Linked DNA regions of Homo sapiens: all the other regions are linked to region 1. Evidence: promoter capture Hi-C in 16 types of primary human blood cells and fetal thymus (Javierre and others, 2016). All regions are on one chromosome and are shown on one strand. The core of a region is centred on a gene start or on the middle of the fragment in contact, and the rest is flanking DNA. Distances in the headings are between cores, read along the strand shown.

What was found. Contacts are between HindIII fragments. The CHiCAGO score rates a contact against its expected background, and 5 or more counts as called.
Region 2: a fragment that was not itself captured here is called in contact with the fragment with the promoter of CPQ in region 1 in 2 of 17 cell types (monocytes and naive B cells); the score reaches 6.4 in monocytes.
Region 3: a contact is called between a fragment that was not itself captured here and the fragment with the promoter of CPQ in region 1, in 2 of 17 cell types (monocytes and neutrophils). The highest score is 10.9, in monocytes.
Region 4: a contact is called between a fragment that was not itself captured here and the fragment with the promoter of CPQ in region 1, in 3 of 17 cell types (neutrophils, monocytes and total B cells). The highest score is 9.1, in neutrophils.
Region 5: a contact is called between a fragment that was not itself captured here and the fragment with the promoter of CPQ in region 1, in 2 of 17 cell types (monocytes and neutrophils). The highest score is 6.7, in monocytes.
Region 6: a fragment that was not itself captured here is called in contact with the fragment with the promoter of CPQ in region 1 in 1 of 17 cell types (neutrophils); the score reaches 5.8 in neutrophils.

What each region holds. Positions count from the first base shown.
Region 1 is chr8:96,643,088-96,648,149 of GRCh38, reverse strand. CPQ (carboxypeptidase Q) reads right to left here and starts at 2,908. Exons shown (of 8, transcript NM_016134.4): 1 at 2,748-2,908. RefSeq lists a silencer at 2,484-3,033. The HindIII fragment of the contact is 6,363 bases long and covers 1-4,402 here.
Region 2 is chr8:97,122,363-97,127,424 of GRCh38, reverse strand. The region is part of intron 7 of CPQ (carboxypeptidase Q); the gene reads right to left. The region is part of intron 2 of LOC101927066 (a long non-coding RNA gene); the gene reads left to right. Among named protein-coding and RNA genes, the nearest start is that of TSPYL5, 150 kb to the left of the region's middle. The HindIII fragment of the contact is 1,553 bases long and covers 1,339-2,891 here.
Region 3 is chr8:96,992,541-96,997,602 of GRCh38, reverse strand. The region is part of intron 5 of CPQ (carboxypeptidase Q); the gene reads right to left. All of the region lies in intron 2 of LOC101927066 (a long non-coding RNA gene), which reads left to right. Among named protein-coding and RNA genes, the nearest start is that of TSPYL5, 280 kb to the left of the region's middle. The HindIII fragment of the contact is 4,247 bases long and covers 1-4,238 here.
Region 4 is chr8:96,975,624-96,980,685 of GRCh38, reverse strand. All of the region lies in intron 5 of CPQ (carboxypeptidase Q), which reads right to left. All of the region lies in intron 2 of LOC101927066 (a long non-coding RNA gene), which reads left to right. Among named protein-coding and RNA genes, the nearest start is that of TSPYL5, 300 kb to the left of the region's middle. The HindIII fragment of the contact is 1,215 bases long and covers 2,453-3,667 here.
Region 5 is chr8:96,956,777-96,961,838 of GRCh38, reverse strand. The region is part of intron 4 of CPQ (carboxypeptidase Q); the gene reads right to left. All of the region lies in intron 2 of LOC101927066 (a long non-coding RNA gene), which reads left to right. Among named protein-coding and RNA genes, the nearest start is that of CPQ, 310 kb to the right of the region's middle. The HindIII fragment of the contact is 589 bases long and covers 2,324-2,912 here.
Region 6 is chr8:96,325,923-96,330,984 of GRCh38, reverse strand. PTDSS1 (phosphatidylserine synthase 1) reads right to left here. Exons shown (of 13, transcript NM_014754.3): 11 at 704-772. Among named protein-coding and RNA genes, the nearest start is that of PTDSS1, 67 kb to the right of the region's middle. RefSeq lists enhancers at 2,633-3,168, 3,169-3,704. The HindIII fragment of the contact is 603 bases long and covers 949-1,551 here.

The sequences.
Region 1 (5,062 bases), core at 1,659-4,158:
AAAAGAAACAAAATAATTTCCCATTTATTTTATGGGCCTCTCTTTTCGTCTTTTGCTCTCTTCAATTAATTATAAGGGTTCTGGAAACCCATCCTGCATTCTTGTCTCTGGATTACACAGATGTAGGCATTGTTCTTTGTCTATACTAGGGGTTGTTGGTCTTATAAAGAAAGAGGTTGGGAGGCAGTGCCTTACCAAGGGCACAAAGCTAGTCCAAGAAACAACACTGCTTAGCACTCATGGTTCAAAGCCCTTAAGTGCCATTCACTGATGGCAGCTGTCGATGTCACTCATTTTATATTCCCTAAATTGGTAAGTCTGAACACATTTAAAATTAAGATGCATGGGCACCTAGGTCAAAGTATCAGAGTCTCCTGGAATCTCAATGGAATTCAATAATTTTCAAAATGATAAAACAACCAACTCCCCTATAATTCAGTCTTCATCATTTCACCCTGTGCTCTCATTCTAAATTCATTTACCCAAATAACCCAGGGTTTGTATATATGCTTGAACACACACAGAGACCACATTCTTCAAAGTCACACAGTTTTTCCTGGCAGGATTGTCTTGTTTCTGGGAGAAACCCTGTTTCCATCTGCTTGAGTTTTGAGTCCTAACTCTCCCATTTTCCATGTACTGTTTCTAGTTAAGAAGATCAAATAGGACTTACCATAGTATCTAGCTCTTAGATATATAGTGATGATTAAATGGGGCAATATAAGTAAAAAGGTTAAATATAACAGTGCCTGGTGTATGGTCAGTGCCCCATAAATATCAGCTTTGTAACATTCCATGCCTGTATGACACATGACCTCATTGGGAAAACAGTGTGAGAAAGTTGGCCCTTTTCACCAAGCAACATGTGTATTCCACTTCTCCTTATAAACTTGAATTCACTGAAGTAGGTAACATTAATTTCATTTTACTTAACACATTTGGAACTTTGTGTTTGTTAAATGTAGCATGCAAAAATATTTAAATATGTATGTATAATGACTTTTGAAGTGCCTTTAAAAAATCTCCAAGGTCCTTCCAGCTCCAAAATGTGATCTATGATAACTAATCTCAAATGCATGCGAAGAAATAGTGATGCAGTTCCCCAGATATACTGGGAATATATGGCATTGTCAGACTGGGTTGCACTGGAAAAAAGTCAGACCCAGGACCAGGAGCCTGTGACAATGTAGAAGAAAATCTTACCCTCCTTTCTCCCCACCAGCCTAGGGTTTATTACACTTATCTTGAGCTCCCAGGCTTTCTTGTTGCAGATGTGGAGAAGAAAGGAAATGAGCTGTAAACAGCAAAGAAGAGAGCAGAGACAAAATGCTATGGGAGGTGAAGTAAGCAGAACTCCATGAAATCATCTGTAATTTCACCTTCTAACCCTGATACAAAAGAATCCCAGAGGTTTAACTCAGGCAGGGTTCCTAGCTAAACATCTTCATTTTGGAGATTAAGAAATTAAAACCTAAAGAGATCAAGTGGCAAGTCCAAGGTCATCCAGCTCTTCTGGAACCTGGACCTGGCAAGTAAGAACGGCTGCAGTGACCAACTGTATTAAAGCTATGTGCTAAGCCTATTTGTTTACAAACAGATAAGCGTCTTTCTGGGCCTTATGTAGCCTTCTTCAGTCACCTGCAAATCAGCCAGCACCTGTCTCAGGAAAACAGACAAGATTCTTAACAACTCTGAATTCAAAAGAAAAGCCTGGTTTTACAAACAAGTCAGAGTCATATGGTTCTGCCTTCAGAGTCACCCTTATCTTTAAGAAATACATGAAATAATATTATAGTGACAATGATTCTTTAAACGTCCAAAGTAGAAGTGAACAAAACACAAGCAAGAAAAAACCTAGGCATATTTTGTTTTAAGCAAACACATATAGCCAAGTCCAACAAAAATGGAAATACCAGGGGGCGTTTCCAGAGACCATTTGAACAGCATAGAACTCTTTTTAAGTGGTCCCAATCAGAATGCCTCCATTTGCAAAAGTGCGACATTCACACAACTTTTTGGAAAGCTATCAAAAAACAGGAGTTGTAAGCCTGCGTCTCCACTGCTTCCACTTCATACATCTTTATTTTCACTCATGCACTGATTGATTCAGCTGTATCTCGTATGCACTCATTTATTCACTTACTCATTTGTTAATTCACTCAGTTCTACGGCATAGGTACTCATTCAATTACTTATTGAGTAGCTCTGAGTCCTAAGTCAGATGGGACTTTGCCCTCATGGAACTTCGATTCTAGGAGAGTCCAGTAGCAGAAACTAGACGCATCAAAAGCGAAAGTACACGGTAAAATGCGAAAGGAACCCCAAAAGAACTGCATAAGGCATATTGGAGGCTCAGGGGGACCAGGATTGTTTGCAGATGGGGGATGAAGGGGGCGGCTTGGGGCTGAGCCCTGGAGCTGAGGGGAAGTGAAACCGTGTTGGGAAGGACGGCTGAGGGCCGTGCTCGCTGCTGTCCCGCAGCACCCTCCACCACCCCCACGTCACAGCTTCCCCATTTCTAGGCTCGGTGACTCCACTGTCACCGAAGGGGCAGCCACAGGCTCCCAACCCGCCGCTCCCCAGCCAGGTCCTCCCGTCACGCCCCCGAATGAGCGATGCTGGAAGTCCGTCCCCCTCTGCCCCCGCCCCTGGCCTGCTCCAGCCTCAGCCCGCCCGACCCCCGCGGGTAGGAGCCAAGGCCTCGGCCCAGCCGCCCGCGGGCACTGCCAGTTCGGCTGCAAACACACCTGATAGGGCGGCTCTGACGGCGGCGACGGAGGCGGCTCCCAGGACTAAGCTCGCGGCCTAGCCTTACGGTGGCGGCGGCCACACCCCTGACTGGGCTGGGGCCCTCCGCGCCGCCCCGTGACTGCAGCCCTGCTTGCCGGCCAGGCCGCGGGGCCGAGAGGCGGGGCAAAGACCTGACTCGGGAAGCCGGGGCGGGCGCCGGGTTCGGGCTGGGGGCCACCTCCGGAACGCCTGGGGGGTTCTCACTCGCCCTCCAAGGGCGACCTCAGGGCCACAGATCGGCCGGAAGGCTTCTCAGCTTCTGGGCTGTGGCTCCTGTTAGAAAATTGAGTGTCGCCCTGGGTCCCGAGCCCCTAGGCCTGACTCCTTCGTGCAGGGGCGTCGCCTTCAGACTGGGTGGTGCGCAGGCCAGGGCCGCGTGCTTTTCAGAAGCGCAGCCTCAGGCGAGGCGGGCGGCAGGGGCCTGAGAAGGCTCATGGCTTGGCAGAAGGGTCCTGTGCTTCAGTGGGTGCCCGTGCAGGTGGAGAAGGACGGGGCTGCGAAGCTGAAAGGAAAACGTGAAAGGTTTTTGTGTGTCTCTGAGCCTGAGTAAAGGCCATGCTTTCTGAGCTGTCAAACGCCTCCCAAAGGGAAGAGATTATTAAACCGTTTTCCCACCCTGCCAGGTGTAGGATTGTTAGGCGGTGATGATGGAAGGCAGAGATGACCCGAACTGAGAGATCAGAAAAAGCGTTTTCTCTTTCGTTTGTGCCTGAATTATATGAGGGTGCCCAAGAAGAAAGGAGACTCATCTGATTACCCGGTGTGGCTTATCTCAACAAGTCACACGCATTCTGGTCACAGAGTATGTGCTCAGTGTTTTCAATGCTTTATGTTTTGATAAGTGCAAATTCCTTTGTTTAACGAAACTCTTATCAAATACAAACAGTTATCTTTGTGAAACACTGAGCAGTTCCAGTCTCTCCTCTTAACTAAAAAAACCAAACAGAACTTTTAATTAGAAAAGAAAAGAAAGAATAAGCACATGCCTACTGGGAAAAAAAAAATACCATAAAATGTGCAAAGTCCACTCACCTTCGGTTAACAGTCCCTCTAAACCTTACTAGTCCTGTTGCCCACTGAAACAAGTGTGAACTCTGAGGCATTGGAGGGTCCACATAAACATGGCCCTGGCCCACCTTTCCCGAATCATCTCTCGGATGCCATATCTAACCCCACTGAATTACTTTTTTCTCAAACTATCAAGGGTAAAAGACAAGTTTTTATTATTTCCAATCTGACATGGACCATTATTTCTGTAAAATACAAATCAAAACCTGCTAGCAAATAAGAAAAGAGACAAAAACTACAAGCCCAGTTTTTATTACAAGTGTACAATGAGTATGCCAAAAAGTATAAAATTAGTTTTTCAATTATTGGTTGTTGTTGTTGTTTTTATTTCTAAATGCTTACTCACAATTTCTATACTTACCTGTTCATGGAGCAGTAAAAAGCTGTTCACTGACTGGCGGTGGTTGGATTACCGTTTAAGTGGCACTGACTTGCTGTTCTTTAATTATGTCAAATGCTTTTCAACTTCTGGGCCTTTTCTCATGTTTAATGTGAACGAAGTTCTTTCCCACTCAAGTTTCAACTCGTAATAACAATAAAAGCTTCACATTTATTGAGTGCCTTGTGCTAAGATTTTTGATGCATTAACTGTGAATTCTTATTTGTCCTATGAGCTACCTATTATTATCATTATTATTTCCCCCCACTGTACAGATAAGGAGATGGAGGATTAGAGAGGTCAAGTCACAAAACCAGTGAGGTACAAAGTCAGCATTAAACTGAGCTGGCCTGATTCTGGAGCCCAAGCAATCAACCAACATGCTGGGCCCCTCTCTGTGAAACCTCCCCCATTTGCTTTCAAGTTGAAATTAATCACTCTTGCTTACACCTCTACTCTAACATTTTTTCCCGTTGGTTTTCATTCATGTCAGCTTCCCACGCTAGGCTTTAAGCTTCTGAGTACAGTGAATTTGTCTGCTCACACTAATCACAGGAAGCAGAGCTCATTCGCATCTTTGCATTACCACTATCTTTTATGCTTACTTCATGATATGTTTTAATTATTTATTCTTGTCAGCATCCTCTACTAAACCATACAATGTTCAGAGTTATCTTACCAAAGATGCTTTTATTTATTTAATTGAATAAGCATTTCTATAGCATGTATAATGAGCCAGGTACTATTCCAAGAATTTTAAAACCTCGCAAATAGACCTATAGATATTATTTTATCCCTCTTTAAACTGTGAGGAAACTAAGGCAT
Region 2 (5,062 bases), core at 866-3,365, 480 kb before region 1:
CCTAGCCTTAATTTGTATTTCAATGATGACTAATGATCTCAAGCACCTTTTCATGTACTTACTGGGGATTGGTGTATCTTGTTTGTGAAATGTTTGTTAAAATATTTTGCTCATTTTTTCTTGTTAGTCTCCTTTTAATTGAGTTGTGAGAGTTACAAGTCCTTTGTCAGACGTATGTATTGTATTTTCTCCTCTGTGGCTTGCCTTTCATTTTCTTAATGATATCTTCCAAAGAGTGGAAATTTTACTTACGATGATGTCCAACTTATCAATTTCTTTAAATGGTTAGTTCCTTTAGTAATCTAAGAAATCTTTACCTAACCTGAGGTCAAAAGATTTTTCTCCTATATTTTCTTCTATAATTATCATAGTTTAAGATTTTACATTTAGGTTTATGATCCATTTTGAGTTAATTTTTGTGCAGGGTATGAGATAAGGGCTAAGGTTCATTTTTTTCCCCTTAAGGATATCTGTTTTAACACTATTTGTTGTAAAGACTATCCTTTTCCCGTTGAATAACCTTGTACTTTTGTAAAAAATTAAGTGACCATATACGCATAGACCTATTCTATTCCACTGATCTGTCTATTCTTATGCCAATATGCCAATACCACATGACTTTGATTATTGTAGATGAAAGTTTTTGAAATCAGAGTAAGTCCTCAAATTTTTTTTCTCCTTTTCAAAATTTTTCTTTCATTTATTTAAGTCTGCTTAAAAATCTCCTAAATTTTACATGTATTTTATTAAAATTATTCTTGAGTATTTCATGTTCTTTGATGTTATTTTTTAAAATATTATTTGCTAGTTTTTAGTATACAGACATAAACTTTAATTTTGTATATTGTGACCTTGCTAAGTTTACTTCTTGCTTCTAGCAGCATATGTTTGTAGTTTTCTTAGGATTTTCTATGTACTGTGAAAGTTATCAGAATAAAAATGAAGGCATAAATGTTATGAAAACCCAAACAAATACAGCTAGGGAAGGTCACGAAGAGAGGGTTCTCATGCTTGCATGCCTGATAACAAAAAAGACCGCTAAAACCACAACTTTGCACAGAGACCATCAAGACTTTGCATAAAACTTACTTCTGTAAGTACATCTGCCCAGCAGCTACCTGTCCAACCTCAGAAGGTGTCACTCTTGCTATTTTTTATTATTATTTTTTTAAATTATAGGGTTAGTGGGTACAAGTGCAGAAGACGTGTATATATTGTGCAGTTGTGAGGTCTGGGCTTTTAGCGTACCCATCGCACCCTTCTTATTGATCTTTGTAGTCAAGGATAATTATTTTAAAACAATTATGTAATCTTCCTCATTTTTTCCTTGAAAAAGCTTTGTCTTCCTTTACCTCCCTGAATACACACATAGTTAACTACAGCCTAGGTATTTCCATTGCAAAGCTCTATTCCCAGATAAACATCTTTCTTTCACAGAGCCCCTCTCTTTTAGTTATTTAGGTTGACAGTACACAATTCTGTTGTTTATTCATAATAATAATTTTACTACTTCCTTTGCAATCTGTAATCTTTGATTTCTTTATCTTGTCTAATTATACTAGTTGGTACTTGCAATATGATGTTTAAATAGAAGTGGTGAGAACGGGAATCTTTGTCTTATTCCCCATCGTAGTAGGAAAGCATTCACTCTTTCATAATTAAACTGAAGATTTGACATCACTGCCTTTTAACAGGTCGAGGAAGCTGTCACTATTCCTAATTTTCCAAAAGTCATTATTATGAATGGGTGTTGAATTTTGTGCAATGCTTTTTATGCACCTCCTGAAATGATCATACTCTTTCCTTTATTATGTTAATGTGGTAAATTATATTGATCGATTTAAAAATATTAAACCAACCTTAAATTTCTAAGATAAATGCCACTTGAACATAGTATATTATCCAGTTTACATATGGCTGAATTTAATTTGCTTATATTTTGTTAAGAATTTTTGTGTCTATATTTATGAAGGATATTGGTCTATAGTTTTCTTACCATATCTTTGGTTTTGATATCAGTGTCATACACGCCTTATAAAATGAGTTGGGAAGTATTTACCTCTTTCTCTGTTTTCTTAAAGTTTGCATAGTCATGTTATTATTTATCCTTTAAATGGTTCACAGAATTAATTAGGGAACTACCTGGGCCTGGGGTTTTCTTTGAGTAAAGGCTTTTACTTATGAATTCAATTCATTTAATTTATAGGAGTATTTAGGTTTTTTATTTCTTCTTGAATCAGTATTAGCAATTTGTCTTTTAAGGAATTTATGCATGTCATCTGCGTTGTTGAATTTTTTGTATATGTTTGTTCATTAGAGTCCTTTAGTGCCCTTTTAATGACGTATGTGTAGTCATGTGTCCTGTTTCACACCTGAGATTGCCAGTTTGCATCTTCTCTTTTTTCTTGACCAGCTTGATAGTTTATCAGTTTTATAGCTTTGTTTCAAAAAGTCCGTTTTAAAATTCATTGATTTTCTCTATTATTTATTATTTTCTATTTCATTGATTTCTACTTTTTTCTACGTACTTAAGGTTAGTATTTTTGTTGTTGTTGTTAGCTTCTTAATGTGGAAGCTAGATCACTGATTTTAGAACTTTCTTCTTTTCTAACATAAGCATTTAACCTACACATTTCCATCTAAGCACTGCTTTAGCTTCATCCCATACACTGGGATATATTGTGTTTTTATTATCAATAAGGTTCAAATAAATTCTAATTTCCTGGTGATTTCTTCTTTGATCTATGGCTTATTTAGAAGTGTGATATTTAATTTCCAAGTATTTGGGAATTTTCTTGATATCTTAATGCTTTTGACTTCTTACCCAATTCCATGGTGGTCAACAAACAGACCTCATATAATTTTAATCCTTTTAAATTTGTTGAGAAGCTTTTATAACCCAGCATATAGTCTATCATGGTGAATACCCCATGTGCACTTAAAAAGAATGTACACCCTGCTGTTGTTGAATGCAGTGTTCTGTAATATCAATTTGATCAAGTTGATTGATAGTATTGTTTGAATCTTCCATATCCAGACTTTCCAGCTACTTGTTCTAACAACTGCTGAGAAGTGTTGAAATTTCCAGCCACAACTATAGATGTGTGTATTCTTTCAATTCTGTCAGTTTTTTCTTCATGTAGTTTTCAAAGCTTGTAATTGAATGAATTTACTTTTTTTTTTTTTTTTTTTTTTTTTTGAGACGGAGTCTTGCTCTGTCGCCCAGGCTGGAGTGCAATGGTGCAATCTCGGCTCACTGCAACCTCCACCTCCCCAGCTCAAACGATTCTCCTGCCTCAGCCTCCAGAGCAGCTGGGATTACAGGTGTCCACCACCAAGTCCATCTAATTTTTGTTTTTCTTTAGTAGAGATGGGGTTTCACCATGTTGGCCAGGCTGGTCTCAAACTCCTGACCTTGTTGTGATCTGCCCACCTCGGCGAGTGAATTTACTTTTAAGATCACTGTGTCTTATTGATGAATAGATTATTTTACCATTATAAAATGTCCCTCCTCCTCTCTAATAATGTTCTCTATTTTGAAGCCAACTTTTTCAGATAGTACAATTATGACAGCCTTCACGTATACAGAATTTGCTGTATATCTTTTTCTATCCATTTATATCTAACCTAGCTATTTTTATATTTAAAATATTTTTTTTGTAAATAGCATATAACTGAATCTTGCTTTTTTTATTCAGTTTGACGATTTCTGTCTTTTAATGGGGCATGGTTAGTCTATTTATGCCTAATGTAATTACTGATATATTGAGTTTGTATTATATCATCTTGATTTTTTTGTACCTTATTCTTTATTCTTTCACTGTTCCTTTCTTCCTTTCATTTCATATGAGGTTTTTCTTTTCAAATTCCATCTCATCTTTTCTATGGCTTATTGGCTATACCATTTTTTAAAAATGGTTGCTCTAGCATTTACAATATGCATTTTAACTATCACAGTCTTCATTAGATATGTACTTCATATATTTAAGAATTCTACAATAGTATACTTCCACTTATTCTCTTTTCTTTTATGCTATTATCATATATTTTTTCCTATTATATCATTATTATATCTTTATTATTTTTTATTTGAACAGTCCATTTACTTTTCAAGCTATTTTAAAAACCAAAATGCCTTTTATATTTACTCACTATTTTATTTTATTTTATTTTTATTTTATTTTATTTATTTTATTTTATTTTATTTTATTTTATTTTTTATTTTATTTTATTTTATTTTATTTTATATTTTATTTTATTTTATTTTATTTTATTTATTTTATTTTATTTTATTTTATTTATTTTATTTTATTTTATTTTATTTATTTTATTTTATTTTATTTATTTTATTTTATTTTTTTTATTTTATTTTATTTTATTTATTTTATTTTATTTTATTTATTTTATTTTATTTTATTTTATATTTTATTTTATTTTATTTTAATTTTATTTTATTTTATTTTATTTTATTTTATTTTATTTTATTTTATTTTATTTATTTTATTTTATTTTATTTTATTTTATTTTATTTTATTTTATTGAGACAGAGTTTCACTCTGTTGCCCAGGCTGGAGTACAGTGGTGTGATATTGGCTCACTGAAACCTCTGCCTCCTGGGTTCAAGCGATTCTCCTGCCTCAGGCTGCTGAGAAGCTGGGATTACAGGTGCACGCCACCATGTCCGGCTAATTTATGTATCTTTAGTAGAGATGCGATTTCAGCTTGTTGGTCAGCCTGTTCTCAAACTCCGGACCTCAATGATCCGCGTGCCTTGGCCTCCCAAAGTGCTGGGATTACAGGCATAAGCCACCACACCCAGCTTACATATTTATTAATTTAGAAACTTTTCTCTTTTGTGCAAATCTGAGTTCCCATTATTTTATTTTGACTTGATAAATTCCCTTCGACATTTCTTAGAGTGGTGAAAAAATTGCTCATCAAATTTTGTTTGTCTAAAAAATTCTTAATTTCATTCTTATTTTTGAGGAATATTTTTGCTGATTATAGAATTCTAGGTGGGCAGATTTTTGTTCACGCACTTTAAAGATGTCACCCATTGTCT
Region 3 (5,062 bases), core at 866-3,365, 350 kb before region 1:
AATTTTTCTCCTGAAATTTTTTTTTATGTCAAAGATGCATCTCTCAACTAATGTTATTTGGAATTTAAAAACAGAATATTTAAATATCATAATTATAAAAGGCTTTAAATACATTTATGAAAACACATAAAATGATGGCAATATTTTGTTAATTTCTAAGTAAATGGAAACAAAAGAGAACTATTTGTAGCTGAAATGAATAGGCTATGTTACACAGTCAGCAAAAATCTGAACTTGGCCAAAATCAGATGAAAATTAAATAATAGGACTTGAATCCTTTGGAGAAAAGTAAGATTTTCCTAGCTCTCTAGGGTCTGTGTATATCAAAACTTCGACTCTTCTAGCTAAAGTGAGTTTTCTAATAAACCAGTGGAACCAGTTTTATGAGCTTTAATCTACCAAGCTAAGAGGACTTTAATTGGTAGAGAAAAAACTAAAAGTGGACTTGTGAATGCTTTTGATCAAAATTGAGGTATCTCTGGGAGAAATTTTTCCCTTGAGGCTAAGAAAACATTTGAAGAGACTTTCCAAACAGAAGATCCCAGATGAAAGGCTGTAGTACAGAATTATGATGCAGTTATAAATTCTGATTCTTTCATGCCCTAGCAAGACTGGAGGGAGTGATGGGAGACCTGGGACTTTTCGAAAACAAGGCCACTGGCTCCTCCTGGTAGAACATTTCCAGATGCTTTGCCTACCTTATTCCACTAATAGCAAACTAACTGCTTTGCTCTAGTCAATAAACCAACCAAGGCTCTGGGGGAAATGGTAAAGTCTTTGAAAAGAATGATCATTCAGTAAACCTCCCCCAGTGTTATGACCTAATGATAATTCTTTGGGAGAAGCTGAAAACAGATATGAAAAAAATAGACAAATTGCATATATAAGCACAAGCAACTGGTTGAAAACAGGAACCAATTATAAAATAATTTGTAAAGGTACTGAATTAAAAATTAAGAACAATATTCATAAATATACTATGTACAGATACACATTTTGACTCCTAAAATATATTTCCCTAAAGACTCGTAAGATCAAACTAAATTCTAACTTAAATTTGTTAGGATAAAACAGATTTTGTACCCTCTTTACAGGTAACAACCTGTGAAAATAAAAGCTGAACCTTGGTACTTATTAAGCAGAGAATCATGAAATAATAAACACTTTGAAATGGGGAAGACTTTGGTGGTCATGTTATCTAAACCTTTCCTGGTCTGCAAATCCTTTGTGCAACTCTAGGACCAAAGGATCTTGTAGGCTGTGCTTTTAAAAAGCCTCTAGCCACCAGTTGACCCTTTCCTTTCCTTCACAGCCAAGCACCCTGAAGATTAATATTTCATGATCTATATGTTCTCTCTTCTCATTCTTACCTCTACCCTTGGTGACCTGAGAAGACTTCCACCTTCCCTACTCCACTGAATCTATTCTTACTAAAATCAGCAAAAGCCCTCAATTGCTGAATCTGTGGAAATCATTTCTGTTCTCATCTTCTTGATTTGTGCTTGACACTTAACACCATCGTCCACCCTGTTCTTTCTGGCTTTCTCTCCTTCCTCGCCTTCCTTCACATCACTTGCCTGCTTCTCTTCTATTTTTCTGGCAATTCCTTCTTGTCTTTCTCATATGTTTCTTTTCCTCTGCCCTTTAAAGTTCTGGTCTACTCTGAATACCTTCTCTAATTCATCTCCCAAATTTCCTTGGCTTCAGCTACCATCTAGAAAGTCACAAATCTTTTGACTTTTTAATAACAGCCATTCTGACTGGTGTGAGATGGTGGAAAGAGGGAGAGGATCCAGAAATACAACTAATGGGTACTAGGCTTAATACCTGGGTGATGAAATAATCTGTATAACAAACCCCCATGACACAAGTTTACCTGTGTAACAAACCTGTACTTGCACACCTAAACTTAAAATAGAAGTGTTTTTTTTTTAAAAAAAAAAAAACCTCACAAGTCTAAATTTCAGCTCAGATCTTTATCTGAGCCCCAATTCTAACTATTCAGCTGCTATCAGACCTTGCCATTTGGATTTCCCACCAGTCCCTCAAACTCAGCATAATCAAACCAAATGCATTACTTCCCCCACTTAAATTAGAATGCCAATTCCTCTGTTTACTCTTCTAGCAATCCATTCAAACTATATGCACTATTTTCCCCCACATAAATCAGCTTCTTCTGCATTTATTATTTTACATAACCATCCATCAAGATATTCAAGTCAGAAACCTAGGATTTTCTTAACAGTTCTCTCATATTCAGCCATTATAAAACAACAACCACCACAATTTCTTCACTATAATGATATTTCTTGAGCATTTACTATATTTTAGGCCCTCTTATAAACTTTATAAATTTTTATCTCATTTAATTTTCACAACAATCTTATAAGTATTATTATAATTCCCATTTAACAGAGTTGTAAGTTGAGGCAGAGATTAGTTGGTAAATTCCCAAGTTAAAATACCCAACAAGTGATAGAGCTGGTGTTCAAACCTGGATAGTCTGACGTAAGAGCCTAAGGGTCTTAACCAGTATGCTAGTTATCAAGACCTGTATGATTTAGTTCTTCAACCTCTTTCGAGTATGCCTCCTCTGCTCCATCCTCATAGCTATTGCCTTGTTTAGGCTCCCATCATTCACTAGATTCGACTCTAAGTTTCATGAATGCCAAGGTCATAAATGCCTCTGTTGACCAATGTCCCACACAATGATTAGCACTTAGCATATCCTGAATAAGTGTTTTTTGATGAAATAAAGTATTTTTATCATGTTATTAATAGGTCGATGTCCATATAATTTAGTGTCCAAGCAGGGAACATGTTGAGATTGAAACGGGGTACTATCAAAAATTACTCTAGGTCAACAGGAATAAATTGGGACTGTCCCAGACAAACTGGGGCATGTCATCACCTAATAATTGGGCTACTTCTATATGCCAGGTTCTTTTTTTTGGCAATTTGACACCATTTTCTCCTTCTACGCTCTCCTTAGTATTATAGGGATTGGAAGCATGAGAACTACATTTCTTAGAATCTCTGCCAGCAGGGTTATGGTTTAAATTAAGACAATTAGACTCATTCATGCAAGGTTTCAAAGACAAAAGATAAATAGAACTATTATTACTCTTTTGAGACAGGCAGTCACATGGACTTGGGTAGACCCCAGATGTGAGCTTTTGCTAACAGCTTCCAAGTATCTTCCTACTGACCACTCACTTTGGTGCTGTAGACAGCTGAGATCATTGGTGACAGTTTCCTGCAGTTCCTATGCTTTATGATTTTCTGCATACTAGTAGTTGCAACCTGATCTTCCCTCTCTCAATCCTTCCAACATTTTTCCAGGCCCTAGTATTTTTACAGTAACTAACCCTAGCTGTCTCAATAGACAAAACTCTGAAATTTCTGTGGCTTATCCCAGTAAAAGGTGACTTTTTGTTCATGCAAAATCCCGTGCAGATTGGCAAGAGATCTCCTCTATCTGGTGACTCAGACGACCAAGATTCATCCATATTTTTATTTTCTATTTCAACATATAGCTCCAAGGTTTATTCCAGGGAAAGTGAGGGTTGAAAGAGGCACACAAGCTCTTAACCAGTTAGGCCCTGGGATATTAATTCTTCCCTCCCCTTCACAGTCCTTCAGCCAGGACTATCACAGGGTCCCAATTAACAGCAAGAGAGAACGGGAGAACAATATAGTGTTTGGTAAACATTAATTCTTTCTGTTATAGAATCTATTTCCCTAAATTAAATCACTTCCTGCTTGAAATAACTAGTTTCTCTTCTCCTTGTTGATACACTATGAAATAATACATAATTATGATACCTGAATGTATTAACTTGATGAAGCACTAATCATTTTTTTACACCAATATATTGTTTGTACACCAATATATTGTAAATATTGGTTTTGCTATGTATGCATCTAAGCATAATATCGTGTATAAAATTTGACATACAGGCTTAGTGTTTAGCTCATCTACCTACTGATAGATATTATTTGAATTAGCAGATTCAATAGTAAAGACATTAGGATTCATATCCTTAACAAAGAAAATAAAACTTTGTGATATGAAGCCTATTCATACATATATCTAATTATTTTAAAATGATCCATATTTAGTGAGTAATAATGCTTTTAAAATTTACAGAAATATGGAACTACCACCCATTAGACCTATAAAGACCAGGACCCACATCATTATTTTTGTATACAACATGCCTGATGATGCATAAGCTTGTACTAAAAGTGAGCAAGAATGAATGTGAAACAGGACATTGACTCTTGAATTTGGTAATCACTATATTTTATATAAAGCTATTAGCTTCTGTTCAGCTCTTATTCAAGAAGCAAATAATGCATACACAAACCCATTCAGGCAACACAATATCTTAAAAACAGTTTCCAAGTGGCAGAGTTAGACTAATGCAAATTAAACATGATTATAGATATTAATGCACCATATATACTACGCTAGACCTTCATCCTTTCCATTTGAAGGTGTTTTTAATGAACAAGCACTTCTTTCCATTTCAATGGCTATGGTGAAGATGGGTTAATTTCCAGGGATGATGTATTGTCAGTGCAGGTGGCAGAGCCAGCCTACCCCACAGGCAACATTCAATTCCTGTCTGAATTGAGACATTCATCATTGTGTTCTGCCCATTTGTGTATCTGTCAACAAATGAAAGTCATGATACTCCCTCCAATTTGTGTTAACAGAAAATATGGGTACAACAAGCAATCTGGAAGATGGATATGAATTGAGAGGAAGCACTTCAGGTGCACCATTACAGGACTGAAGTCTAATTCCACCACTTTTATCTCTGGTTAATTTATGGAAAACAGAGTGGAAGGAAAGAAAGTGGGAGACTCTCCTTTATTGAATACTTATTAATAGTATTAATACTAATTAATACTATGGCCAGACTCTTTGCTCATTAACTTCACATACATTTTCTGACTGATTCATCACAACATCCCTTGAAGATGGCTTTATTATTGTCCCTATTATACAATAAGGAGAGACACCTTATCTGTGTCACTGTCTCAAAAACTTGGA
Region 4 (5,062 bases), core at 1,811-4,310, 330 kb before region 1:
AGCTGAACTTTGCAATGGGATACAGACATGAAGACTCGAGAGCTGAGAGTTGATACTGGGATTATAACCTCTCCTGGAACATCCAACCTGCTGTTTTGGCAATTAGAATCTGATAATAATAGTTACTATTATTGATGGCTTAGCAGGGGCCAGTTACTGTGTATATTATTTCAAATTATCCTATCAAGAACTGAAGATAAATTGTTCCCATTGTAAAAAGAGAAAACTGAGATTTAAAATGTTAAATAATTTAGGCTGGGCACGGTGGCTAATGCCTGTAATCCCAGCACTTTGGGAGGCCGAGGTGGGCAGATCACTTGAGACCAGGAGTTTGAGACCAGCCTGGCCAACAGGGTGAAACCCCGTCTCTACCAAAAATACAAAAATTAGTTGGGCATAGTGGTGTGTGCCTGAAATCCCAGCTACTCTGGAGGCTGAGGTACAAGAATCACTTGAACCCAGGAGGCGGAGGTTGCAGTGAGCCAAGATTGTGCCACTGCACTCCAGCCTGGGCAACAGAGCGAGACTCTGTTTCAAAATCTATATATAATGATAGAATGTTAAATAATTTGTCCAGGAAAATACAACTACTAGATAGCACAGAAGGATTGGAATCCAAGATGTTCTAACATAGAGCACATGCTTATTCTACTATCCATGCTGCCTCTCACTTACCTAGAGATTTTGAATTATTTAAGGATTAAGAAAGGAGGACTTAAAGGTTGAAAAATCAGTGAGATCTGGGTCACATGTAGTCTGAAAATGCTAGTGTCAGGCAAGCACATGGGCCAAGCATCAGCTCATCGATAATGATTATCTAATATGAGGAGGGCACGAGCAGGATTATAAATAAGTACTCTTATAATAATCAACTTCCCTCAATACTTTCTTTATCCTGTCACATACCCAGTAGAAACGTTCTTTTCCTAGTGCTTATTTTTGAGAATGTTTGCAGGAGTCGAGGAGCCTAAGAATAGACTAACTAAACCCTTACGTTCCACGGCAATTAAAAAAACCCAGTTAACCATAAAGGTCCGATCAGATGTTCATAGCATATTTTCTTATTTTTTGCAGACTTCTGTTTTTAGGCAAGTTTACTGGAACAAAATTCATTGGAAGCTGGGTAAACCACAGCTTTTGCAAAATGCAGCATTAGCATGATGCAGAGAAGCGTGTAGGCGAAGAACACAGCATCCCTGGAAACCCCATCACTTCCTCTTTGGTATATTTAACATAGAGAAGTAGAAGCTGGCTCATCCACCACAGCAAATAAAATTTGCTAAGCAACTCCAAAGCTGTAGTTCTCTAGGCTCAGTATAACTGGGATCTCCCTACTCTGTTTTTCTGTATCTCTATTCTATTTATCATAGTACTTTAGCAGTTAAAATAGTCAATGTGATATCCCTATTTTAGAAAGAAGTCCTATCATGCTTAAAATCCTCAGTGGTGCCTGCTGCCTATAGCACCAACTCCAACCTTTAGCTTTGCATCCAGTACCCTTCACAAACTCTCATCCTTCACTTTACTCGTTTCCCACCCCCTCCTCACTCACCCATTACTCTAGATTTATGAAGACATCTTCTACTCCTCAAACTATGTACTTTCATGAGTTCTAATTTGTTCTTTTTTTTTTTTACCACTTCCTAACTTTTCAAGGCCTGGTTTAAATGCCTCTATCCATGTGAAGCCATTGTTGCCTGACTATGAGCTCCTTGACGCAAGGAACTGTGTCCTGTCCATATTATTTGCCTGACATGAAGTGGGCAGTCAAAGCTTCTTATTGAAATAAGACGTCTCCTTGTGAGCCAAGTGTGTGATACAGTGATGATACCATTGCAATAAGGTAGCCTAGGTTTTCCAGACAGCCCTACCATGGATTTGTATGTATTCCATTCTTGGGTGGGAGGAAATCCACTGGGGCACTAAGGATACCATTAGTAAGATTTTCTATGGCCCTTATTCTCCAGGATAAATGATACCAATTTCTTAAGCTTCCGCTTCCTTTACAACCACATGCCTTCACTTTCTAAGGCCAAATCAAAGCATACATCGGGGAGGAAGCTAAGCATGCTGTAGAAAAGGGGGCCCTCTCATAGCATTCATCTGCCACCCTTCCAGACTGTCAGATAGAAAAGAACTGGTCATTATTATGCTGTATACCCTGGGTGGTGTCTACTTTTGCACAGAAATTGTATATTCTAACTAAATGATACAATAACAACAGCAATATTCATGTAGCCTAAGGCTCTAAAATGACTATGGAATCTCTCATACCAAATCCAGACTAAAAGGTAGACCACATTCTAAGTGACTCATTGTAAACAAATCTTGCTTTATCTCACAGATGTATTTTGCAAATCAATTTACACACAATTTGTCTTTTTACACATCCTAGTAGAAATGTCTATGTAAACTGATGAGACATAAGGTTGTTGAGTGTGTTAGTGAAGCTTCTAAATGTGTTCAAACCTTAGGAAAAGCTCTCAGCAATTCCCAGCAGAAAAAAAAATATGTATCTGCCATGGGTCTTACAGAAAAGCCATTCACTAACATAAGTTGCCGCTAGAGGAAATAACATATCAGAATAAAAAATGAGAAGATCATCTCTAAAGAAAAAGAGGAGGAGTCACAGATGCCCCATGGCCATAAACCTAGTTTTACATGTAATTAAAAAAAGGAAAGGAACAAATTCTTTTAAAAAATTTTTTTTTATTTCAATAGGTTTTTGGGGAACAGGTGGTGTTTGGTTACATGAGTAAGTTATTTAGTGGTAATTTCTGAGATTCTGGTGCACTCATCAACTGAGAAGTATACACTGCACCCAATGTGCAGTCTTTTATCCTTTGCTGTCCCCCATCCTTTCCCTTGAGTCCCCAAAGTCCAATGTATCATTCTTATGCATTTGCATCCTCATAGCTTAGCTCCCACATGTGGATGAGAACATACGATGTTTGATTTTCCATTCCTGAGTTAATTCATTTAGAATGATGGTCTGCAATTACATCCAGGTTGCTGTGAATGCCATTATTTTGTTCCTTTTTGTGGCTGAGTAATATTCCATGATATATATATACCCATCATTGATTGATGGTCATTTGGGCTGCTTCCATGGTTTTGCAATTGCAAATCATGCTGCTATAAACATGAGTGGGCAAGCATCTTTTTCATATACTGACTTCTTTTCCTCTGGGTAGATACCTAGTAGTGAGATGGCTGGATTAAATGTAGATCTGCTTTCAGTTCTTTAAAGATTATCCACACTGTTTTCCGCAGTGCTTGTACCAGTTTACATTCCCACCATCAGTGTAAAAGTGTTCCCTTTTTACTGCATCCCTGCCAACATCTATTTTTTTTTTTTTTTGATTACGGATATTCTTGCAGGTGTGAGGTGGTATTGCATTGTGTTTTTGATTTGCATTTCCCTCATTATTAGTGATGTTGAGCATTCTTCCATACGCTTGTTGGCCATTTGTATATCTTCTTTTGAGAATTGTCTATTCATGTCCTTAGCCCTTTTTTGATGGGATTATTTGTTATTCTCTTGCTTATTTGAGTTCTTAGATTCTGGATATTAGTCCTTTGTAAGATGTATAGATTGTAAAGATTTTCTCCCACTCTGTGGTTATCTGTTAACTCTGCTGATGATTTCTTTTGTTGTGCAGAAGCTTTTTAGTTTAATTGAGTCCCATATGTCTATCTTTGTTTTTGTTGCATTTGCTTTTGGGTTCCTGGTCATGAAGTCTTTGCCTAAGCCAATGTCTAGAAGACTTTTTCCAATTTTATCTTCTAGAATCTGTGTGGTTTCAGGTCTTAGATTTAAGTTTTTGTTCCATCTTGAGTTAATTTTTATGTAAGGTAAGAGATGAGGATCCAGTTTCATTCTCCTACATGTGGCTTGCCAATTATCCCAGCACCATTTATTGAATAGGCGTCTTTTCTCCACTTTATGTTTTTGTTTGCTTTGTCAAAGATCAGTTGGCTGTAAGTATTTGGCTTTATTTCTGGGTTCTTTCTTCTCTTCCATTGGTCTATATGCCTATTTTTATACCAGTACCATGCTGTTTTGGTGTCTAAGGCCTTATAGTTTAGTTTGAAGTAGGGTAATGTGATGCTTCCAGATTTGTTCTTTTTGCTTGGTCTTGCTTTGGCTATGCGGGCTCTTTTTTGGTTCCATATTAATTTTAGGATGTTTTTTCTACTTCTTGAAGAATGATGGTGGTATTTTGATGGGAATTGCAATGAATTTGTAGATTGCTTTTGGCAGTATGGTCATTTTCATAATATTGATGCTACCCATCCATGAGCATGGGATGTGTTTCCATTTGCTTGTGTCATCTATGATTTCTTTCAGCAGAGCTTTTTAGTTTTACTCGTAGAGGTCTTTCACGTCCTTGGTTAGGTATAATCCTAAGGTTTTTTTTTTTTTTTTTTTTTTTTTGTCAGCTATTGTGAAAGGGGTTGAGTTCTTAATTTGATTCTCAGCTTGGTTGCTGTTGGTATATAGAAGAGCTAGTGATTTGTGTACATTAATTTTGTATCCTGAACCTTTGCTGAATTCATTTGCTAGTTTTAGGAGCTTTTTGGATGAGTCTTTAGGGTTTTCTACATATACAATCATATCATCAGCAAACAGTGACAGTTTGACTTCCTCTTTACTGATTGGGATGCACTTGATATCTTTTTCTTGTCTGATGACTCTAGCTAGGACTTCCAATTCTATGTTGAATAGAAGTGGTGAAAATGGGAATCCTTGTCTTGTTCCAGTTCTCAGGGGGAATGCTTTCAACTTTCCCTATTCAGTATAATGTTATCTGTTTGTTGTAGATGGCTATTATTACCTCAAGGTATGTCCCTTCTATGCCAATTTTGCTCAGGGTTTTAATCATAAAGCGATGCTGGATTTTGTCAAATGCTTCTTCTGCATCTATTAAGATGATCATGTGATTTTTGTTTTTAATTCTGTTTATGTGATGTATCATATTTATTGACTTATGTCTCTTAAATCAACCCTGCATCCCTAGTATGAAACCCACTTGATCATGGTGAAGTATCTTTTTGATAT
Region 5 (5,062 bases), core at 1,369-3,868, 310 kb before region 1:
AATGCAAGATACTGAAGAACATTTCACCCTCTCTGGCATTCAGTCATGGTTTCCTTCAACAATTTTTATTGAGTTCCCACTATGTGCTAGAGATACCGAAATGAGTAAAACAAGCAAATATTCTAGCCTTAATTGAATTTAGATTCTGGTGGGAAGATGGAAAATAAATAAACACAATATAATGATAGTTTTAAGTGCAACAGAGAAAAATATCTTTATATCTTCAGTGTGGAGATTTTAAAAATAGAATAAAAATTCAAAGCATGAATAGTAGATGTATAAATTTAACTATCATAAAATGAAGGCTTTATGTTCATCAAGAGAAATCATAGAATGAGAGGAGTTGCTAGAAATTAGAAGAAGACATTTACAATATATATAACTCAAAATGATTTATATTCAAAATGGGTAAAGAATTCTTACAAATCAATAAAAAAGCCAAGCAACCCAAAAAGCAAATAGGCAAAACACATAAAGAGGCATTTCACAGAAAAGAAATTATGAATGACAGCAAGCATTTGAAAAGGTGACCAATTTCATTACCAATCAGGGAAATGTAAATGTAAATTAAATCCTTAATAAGATACCACTTTACAACTATCTGGCAAAAAATTTAAAATCACACAAATGAGATCTTGGCAAGGAGGCTGAGCAATAGGAATTCTTATCCACTCCTGGTAGAAGCAGAAAATTGTTAAAATAATTAAGGGAAAACAATTGGACATATCCTTATAAAGTTGAACATATGGGCATTCCACAATCCAACAATTCCACTCTTGGTGTAAACATTAGAGGAATTCTAATACCAGGAGACATGGACCAAAACGGTCATACAGACACATTCAGAAGTTCTCAAACTGAAAACACACAAATGTCCATCATCAGTAGAATCGATACATTGTGGAATAGTCATACAATGGACTATTACAAAGTAGTAAAGTGAACTGAAAATGACCTAGTGATGCATTATTAAATATAAATGAATCTCAAAACAAAAATAGGCAACAAAAAACAAAAACCCAAAAAAGACAAAAGAAGTAGAAGATTATGATTCTATAATATAAATTTCAACTAAACTAAATAATATAATCTTCAGTAATAATATATACAAAGATGGTATAACTATGAAGAAAAGCAAAGCAATGGTATACCAAAGTTAGCATTGTGTTTATGTCAAATGGGGGTTAGGGCAGAGAGGAGGAGGTGATCAGGTACGGGAACACAGTGACCTTCAAAGACACTGATAGTGTTCTGTTTCTGCAACTCAGTGGTGAGAACATGTGTAATCCTTCCATTACTATTCTCTAGATTGAACATAGATAAATAAAGTCTTCCATATGTGTGATATGTTAAACTATAGCAAGAATTATCAAAAACCTACCTTTGGAAGTCAAGGGGCTCAGACAGTTTTACAAGTGAGTTCAACCAAACATTAGATGTCAGATTGATCTTGTTCTATTTCAACTGTTCTAAAGCAAAGAAAAAGTATAGAAAATATCTACATTTACTTACAAAGCTATCACAATCTTGATATTAAAACCTGACAAAGATAGTGTCCTCCTTATAAACTAACTAGAGATCAAATATAATTGTAAAAATCTGCAATAATTGAATCCAGAAGCATATTAAAAAGTATTAAAATAATGGCCCAGTCATCTTCAAAGGCCCTTGGTAACTAGAAGCCATAATACATCCAATATACTAAGAAAGGGCCACTTTTGAGTCATACTTATTTTCTTGGCATGCTTAGCTTTTAACTCCCTTCATTAAAAATTATGTGAGTTGTATAGATATTCATCTAAACCTGACCACATTCATGTTGGTCAATTGTCAGTAAACAACAGGCCCATCTGACAATAAAGTATGCTTCATTTTACAAATATCTTGCTCAATCAAAAACCAGAAAGACAGCTACTCGGTGTTTTTGGTTTTTTTTTTTTTTTTTTTGCTTTTGTGATTTTTTAAAAATTGCAGCAGCTGTCTTCTCCTAGTCTTAATTTTACTTGGTGTCTTTTAAAAGGTAGCAGGAAAAGTCTTAGGGGTACAAAGTTTGAGGCCTAATGCATTTCCAGACACAGGAAATCCCCAAATTTTCAACAACAAAAATCATTAAATGGTTGAAAAAATATGATGTACCAAAAAAGGAGAAAAAAAAATAACTCATTATTTAGCCTTAGAGAAGAGGCCAAGGAGTGACCTAATAATGGGCTTCAGCTAAGACAGGTCCCACTGTGAAGAATATGAACAGCAAAAGAAAGTGCAAAGGAAGCCAGGCTTGGACTGCAGCAGTGAGCGTTAGGGTCATATAAGCGAGCAAGAAGCTTCTGATGCAGGCTTTTGTTGAAGTTAAAAAAAATGACTAACAGGGGAAAGGTTATGAAAAATTTCCTGCCTTGGAGATTTTCTAAAATAGACTACATTCTGAGGCCTTAGACAGAAAGCTAAAAGAGAAGGGATAAATAAAACCTTCCAAGGTTCCATCTAATACGATATTCCATGCCAGTTTTCAAGAATTCCTCTTCTATTCTAATCATTTTAAAGGAGGTAATGGTCTTTCAAAAAGTCTCTATAATCTCAACAGACTTTTCCCTGAGCACCTCTTTTCTGGCTGTCAAGCATCTTCCTAAAATTTAAAATCTAAACACAGGTGGGCAGGCACTTCTCAAGAAATCCATGTTTTCATAATCCCCACTGGAGACAAAGCCTTGGCTTTCAGAGGGTGGTTGCTGAATGTATTGTGCTATTGCCCAGCACAGACAAAAGGGACTATGTTTGAACAAATATTTTCCTCCCCAATGATTCTGACTAGGTGGTCTACAGAATAAAGCTAAGCTCTTGACATACAGGGTGTGTTCAGAGGCAACACAGCAAACATGTGGGTTCCTCTTGAATTGATTTCTTATCTTCAAGCTTTTTTTTTTTTTTTCAGTGAAGCTGTTGGGTGTTAGCTTGTAGGATACAGAATCCTTTCCCACAAAAATGGGCCATCTGTTCAAATGCTCATGGATCACCCAGCTGGTCCTGAAAAGAGCTGTTTCCACTCTCAGACTATCCCCTCTTACTTGTAAAGGACACTCAGATTAGACTCACAAAAAGGAGATCATGCCTATTCCTGGTTGCATGCTGTGAGCATGTTACTAGACTGATAGCTCAGGATAAAACAAGAAGGACCTAATTTATCTGCGGCGCATGAAAACCAAGCACTAGGTAGATTTATAAAATGTGATTGCAGTGGATTTGCAAGAAATGGCTGGAATTGATTAAACATTGATTTGACAATGATAGGGGAACAGCAGAGAATGTCTATGGAAGGAAACCATTCTCATGAAATGGAGGCAACTGGGTTGCATCCAGAAGTCATGATTTGATGCAACTGGAGATGATCTTAAGTAGAAGAACCATGTATTTGAATTCCTCCTCTATTTAGCCTCAGCAACCACAGTATAAGTTGTCTCATTTGAGAGGACAGGAAGAGTAGAAGAGCTGAATTACAACATTGTATTTGAACTTCCTGAGGTAAGGGAAAAGACACAGAGAGTTTAGGTAACTTCTATGTTAATATTGATCATCTTTCCCATAATCAAATCCAAGCATGGTACAGTGCACAGCTAAAACTTCTCATTCCTTACAACTATTCACTTACCATTATGTCCCAGGCCTTTGTCATGCTAAGTGGGTGGGATTTTAGAAAAGAAGAAGGCCGAGCATGGTGGCTCACACATGTAATCTGAGCACTTTGGGAAGTCAAGGAGGGAGGATCAATTGAGGCCAGGAGTTCAAGACCAGCCTGTACAATGTAGTGAGAACTCATCTCTATTGAAAAAAAAAAATAGCCGGGTGTAGTGGTGCACGTCTATAGTCCCAGCTACTGGAGAGGGGAAGGTGGACTGAGGTAGGAGGATACTTGAGTCCAGAAGACTGTGGCTACAGTGAGCCATGAACACACCACTACACTCCAGTATGTACCACAGAGCCAGATCCTGTCTCCAAAAAAAAAAAAGCATTTGGTACCCTACAGACTTTTTTTTTTTTGTTTTTTTGAGACACAGTTTCACTCAGTCACCCAGGCCGGAGTGCAGAGGTGTGATCTTGGCTCACAGCAACCTCTGTCTCCCAGGTTCAAGTGATTCTCATGCCTCATCCTCCTGAGTAGCTGGGATTACAGGCACGTGCCACCAGGCCTGGCTAATTTTTGTACTCTCAGTAGATACCGGTTTTCACCATGTTGGCCTGGTCTGGAACTCCTGACTTCAAGTGATCTGCCTGCCTCAGCCTCCCAAAGTGCTGAGATTAAAGGCATGAGCCACTGTACCTGGCCTCCTACAGACTCTTTTATGGCTCAGTTTAAACAGGCTAATAGAGATATCATCAATCTTTCATTATAAAAAATGGGAGTCAAGGTGCTTCCTACCAAAAGAAACAGGCTTTAACTTAAATTTTGAACATTTAGATCTATAAGCTGACAGATTCTTCTTGGCCCCTAATGGTTTCTAAAATTCCAGAACCCTATGTAGCTTTGAAAAATACCCAGCCATGATAGTCTGTGCAGTTTAAATGAAAGTTACTCAAAGCATTTCTACCTTAAGCAGTTGGCTCCTGCCTGCCATGTCCCTGGACCACACTGACAATGGGGAGTCAGAAGTCAATCACCTCAAGTTCCAGGACTTTTTAGTGAACTTTAGGGTAGCTGAATGGCTTCCTATGATGATGACACCTGAGAACAACTTTTATTTGGATGCTTAAATTCTAGCTTAAACATAAGACAGTCAAAGAATGTTACAGACATCCCTAAAAGAAGACTTCTCAATGACCTGATTTTCAATGATCTTAAAAATCAGCGCAAGCTGCAGGACAGAGTGTCAAGGAGCCAACTTTACTTTGAAAGGCTCCATGCCTGCACAAGCATCCAGCTTGCTATCCAAGCACAGTACCTCTAGCTTTTAATCCTTTTATCATACTCCACCTCACATAGTATTAGCCCGGTCATCGCAGTTAATAACTCCTGTGTTGAGACTCTAGGAAACAAGCCAAATTTCCATCAGTATATTTTGTTTTAGAAAGG
Region 6 (5,062 bases), core at 1-2,500, 320 kb after region 1:
CCCTGGGAGAAGTGGCAGGGCAAAAAGGCGAGCATGCTGCATCCCTGCCTCTCCCAGGCTGGGATCATCACTGGCAAGTGACAGAACCTCCCTGTGCTTATATTTCTCTGCTATAAAAACAAGGTTCTTTCCTCTCACAGGTGATGCAGAATCAATCTTCCACAACATGCCTTAAGTTCTTTAGACTGAAGGTGTAAATAAAGGATGAAAGTGTTATTTTTACCGAAAAAAATATTACCGTCTACCAGACGGCCATCGTGTCTTAAAGCCATTCATGTCTATTTTCTATGGTATCCTCATATCTACTAAATGAAGGTCAGGGCAAGCGTTTGCCCAGAAGAGCCACAGGCCGGAACACAGGAAGAGGCCTCCACACAGTTCAAGAGCTGGGGAGAAAACCCAGCTTCCAAAAGCCAGTCCACAGCTTTCCCATCACTTTTCTTTTTTTCTCCAAACAAACATAACTTTTTTTATCTAACAAAAGTTAGACAAAAATATTGGTCTACTGAACAGAGCCGTCACAAGCAGGGCCAGCAATGGCTAGGGAATGAGTTGTGACATGCGGTTTCTGCAGTGGCAGGACTGGAGGCCCCAACCTCAGTGTTTACCTCGCCATATCCTTACAGGCACGTGCTCTGAGCGAATTTGCCGAGCCCGGGGTGATTATTTTAAACAATGGCCATGCCTGCCTCTCCTTCCATACCTTTTCTCGGTGACCATAGTGTTCTGCATACCAAATCATGCCGTACAGACAGAGGAAAGTGGTGAAAGCCTGGAAGAGAAAAACAAATGATGCTGCACAAAAAAGTTCAATTTCCCAGAACTTCAGGGTTTCAGTGGGAATCAATGCAGGACCGTTCAATGCATTTCTGCCGTCTGGACGCCGGTTACAAAACGGCTGGACGTGGCAGAGATCAGACCTCAAGGGGAGGGTGCACACCCAAAGCTTCTGACAACAAAGGTTATGATGAGACCACAGTTACTACCTGTGACTCTACTATCAGAAAGCAAGAAAGACAATTTTCAGATGTGCAATATGGTGGGATGCATTTTCTTGATAGCTTTGCGGGTTCTGTTGAAGAAGATAGAGAGGATTCTATGTTCTAGTTCTGATTTTCAGGGTCCATTCTCTCCCGGCTTCCCCATCACAGGAGAGCGCTAAGAGGACTCAGTGTGTCAGCTTCTAGGGGGAAGAGGTCACAGCGGCACCTGAGGGCCCACGGACAAACACTCCCAGGGTAGAGGGTGGGGAGCTTAGCTGGACAGGGCTGCCCTTGCTTTTCCAGGCTTTTGAGTGGACCCCAGTTTTTATTGCTTTGTTTTTCTTGGTTATATGGATAGGAAAACAAAGAGAAAATAAAGATGCTCTTAAGGCCCTGAGTGGAATGAGGAGGGTGTGGCCTGTGGGTGCCCAGAGGCAGGGACAACCTCTACTCCACACTTGCCCCACTCACTGGGCCTGCCCCCACACCCTAAATTATACCCTAATTTAAGGAAAGAAAAGCACAGACAAGAATCCAAAGTTTCAAAACATGTCAAAAAATCAAAGCTTAGGAAAAGTCTCCAGCTGCCTGGACTGCATACCAAAGGCAGGAGGGAGGGAGGGTGAGCGGTAGAGCAGGGCCATGAATCTCCCCGGCCACACCTTCCCCACTGCAAGCAAAGCAACCAGAACAAAACAAGGCAACTGCCAGCTCCTTCCAAATTCCTCACTCTAGAAACCCATTCACATCAAGCCATCCTGGCTGTTGAGCCTCCATCTCTCCCCCTGCATTTCCTGTGGACACCTGGGCACCTGTCATTTTCCTGGACCCCTCTCATCTTGCACCAACTGTGGGGACAGCTGTGAGAGCATGGAGGGACCTTCTCAAGGAAATAATTTTAGTTCTAAGAATCATAACTTTAGATCCAAAAGGTCACCTCAGAGACCATTAATTTCATTGCCCCTCATTTTCCAGAAGAAGAATGAAAGCTCAGAGAGGTGAACATTGGAGCCGGAACTCAGATCTCTTGAAACCCCCGGATCTGGGTTTAAGGGATGGCTACTGATACAAATATTGGCTTTATGTCTATATAGCTTTATTTCTCCATCCATGTATCCATCCCTGAGAACGAAAAGCATCATGGGAACAGTGAACAGCAGCAGCTTCTCCTCTGCACAGCCACAGTCTGGTGGTAGGGCGGGAAGGCAGGGGCTGTGAATTCTCATCATGGCAGCTTGCAGTCGAGCTTTGGCCCAGTTCCTTTATCAGCGACATTTCCTGGCAGCTGCTGGATACACAGTGCCTTCTTAGTTCCAAAAAAGAAAGGAGAGCAACACTCTGGCTAGCTGTCCTCTTCCGTGCCAGTTACGTGGAAGCAGGAACAGTGGCAGCGTGGAGAGAGAGTGAGAAGCACAAGCAGCGCCACTGGTTCATTTCCTACTAAACCCACGTGCAAACTGGCATATACCTACAGGTTAGGGATTTATTAAAAAGCTCATATCCATCAAAAAATTAGGCCACGAATGAATACATTAAAACTACAAAGTGAAAATGACTTCCAACCTTTAACATACTCTAATGCTTGCCCAGATTTCTTAGATATACCAACGTTAAGTGTGCCATTTTCATGGCATGGAAAGAGTGGGAAGGACTAGAAATGATTTGCAGAGTGTAAGCCTGTGTATGCGTTAGGCCCCTTACAAAGAGCAAAACAGAACATTCTGGGTTTCACACAGCGGACTGGGGGGGTTAGGTTCCACCTCCCCAAACGAGAGGGCTGTGGGGAGGCGGGTCCCTCAACTAGACTGTCATTGCAAACTCTGACCACCAGAGGGCAGGCACGCGGGGCTCTTCCCTTCCCCAGCCCCAGGCCCAATATGACAGGCAGTGGCAGCTGCCGCTCCCTCCAGCGGCAAACAGCAGGCAAGTGGAGAACGACAGGTGCTTATCATCACAATCGTCACACAAAGGGTCTGTTGTGATTGCCAAATCTACTTCACCTGCGTACAAAGAGGCCCATTTTACACTTGTCCCAGCAAACGGAAGCCGGTAATTTACAGGTTTGCAATCACACCTGTGGAAATCTAGGCACGTACCCACTGAAAATGTCAAGGCTCAGATTTAAAATAGCAATTGCACACTTCGTTTAAAGAAAGGGCGGGGGGGCGAGAAGAAACTACGTGGGATGAGAGCCAGGCTGTCCAGGACCACGGGGCTGGCGGCAAGGAGGGCGCAGGACCCCAGCTTGGCTTCTACATTATGGTAATGAGCATTCAAATTAATGACGGCCGAGCAGACAACCACGCTCCTGGAAAAGCTTATTAACCAGCACCCGGGATCTTTGCTTCTGCATTAATCTCAAGCTCCGTGTGCGCTCTCTTACCAGGCCAGGGGAGTAATTAGGGGCTTTGCTTTTCTGAGTGGGGCAGAAGGCATGGTGTAACTTGAAGCTCTCTTATTGAATAATGTTCGCCTCTACTCCTGAGTCTGCGATCAATCTTGCTCTTTATAATAAAGGTCAGGAATATTTTAAAAAGTGCCAGGACCTTGTTTCTGTTCTTCTTTAAAGGGAGGCAGTGGAGACCCCTAATCATCCTGTCTCAGGGCCTCTTTTCGGGCGACGTCCCTCTCTCATGTCTCATCCTGTAAGTCTAATCAGAGATTCTGCCTGTCTTCAAAATCCTGCTCATCGTCCCCGGCCTGACCTCTTATTAAGGTATCCCAGCCTCAGTCAGCTCCTCTCCCAGAGGCATGTTCCCTGAGCTCTTAACCTAATCCCAGGACTCCAACTGCACCCTCCACATGGGCTCCTCCCAAGTATTTTATTTCCACCAACGACCAAATCCTTCCAGTGTTATTGACAGATTAGAATTTCCCATAAAACAGGACACTTCCACCTGTAAATTCTAAAGGTTCCTCAAACCCAAATCCCCTGAACCAAATTCACCTCCTCCTTTCAATGGGCTTCTCCTATATCCTCCAATCTGTCGCTAGCACTGGTGGCCACCCAGTGGCACCAGTTAGAACCTTTGGAGTGGCACTCAAGTCCCCTCCCAGCTACCACAAGAGGAATGGCATCCTGTTGAGCACATTCCTTAAACAACTCTCAGATCCAGCCCTTCCTCTGCATCTTCAATGCCTCTGCCTTGGTTCAGCTTCAGTTACTTGTCAACTAGGCCTGGCAGCACCTCTGACTGTACTTCTTCCCCCCAACCCATCTTCCCTCTAGACTCTCCCAGCCTCCATGGTGTTTCCCCATGAGACACAGATCAGACCACATTGTTTCCCCGCTTGAAAATTGCTGGGGCTGCAACTACAGCCGCACAAAGCCCTTCCTAAGCAGGGGACCCTGTCCTACTCTTCATCCAACTCTTCACTGTCACTCCTCAAACAGGTCACCACCTTCCTGAGCCACTGGGCACTCTCACAGCTTCCTGTCTTTGTATGTTTGCCCCCCAGCCACCTGCATGTCGCAAGTTTTTGTCTCTTGAACTCACTCCTTTATTCTCCACGAAGCTGCCGAGTGCTTCCTATGCACCAGGCACGGTGCTTGAGACAGTGGGGCCAAAAGATGACTTCAACTTATTCTCTCTGAGCAAGGAGTGCAGTGTGGAGGAGACAGATAGAAAAAAAACAAATTCCACTGCACTGGGGTTAGAACTGAGAGTTACGTACAAAGCACTACTGGTCCCAAGGAGGGAGCTATCTACTTGCCTTGGAGGTCAGAGCATATTTCATGGGGGTCATATGTTTAAGTTGGTTTTGGGGTATCAGTTTCATCATGTAGATAAGGCAGGGAAAGTCTTTCAGATCAGGCAGAGAAAACAGCGTGGGAAGGGCAAAAGAAGTCTGGAAGGATGACTTGTTTAGGTAACTACCAGCAGACAAGTGCAGCCTGAGAATAGAGTACACGTGGGCAGATGTGATGGAATGCTCCCACTATGAAGGTCCTGAACACACAAGCAGATTTCATAATTCATCTGGGAGGTTTCGTGGTGGGGAGCCTTCTTCCTTCTTGAAGTTTCTTCTTGTGTGGAGGAAGCTTCACTGCTTCCCTCCACCCCTCACTCCTTCCCTGG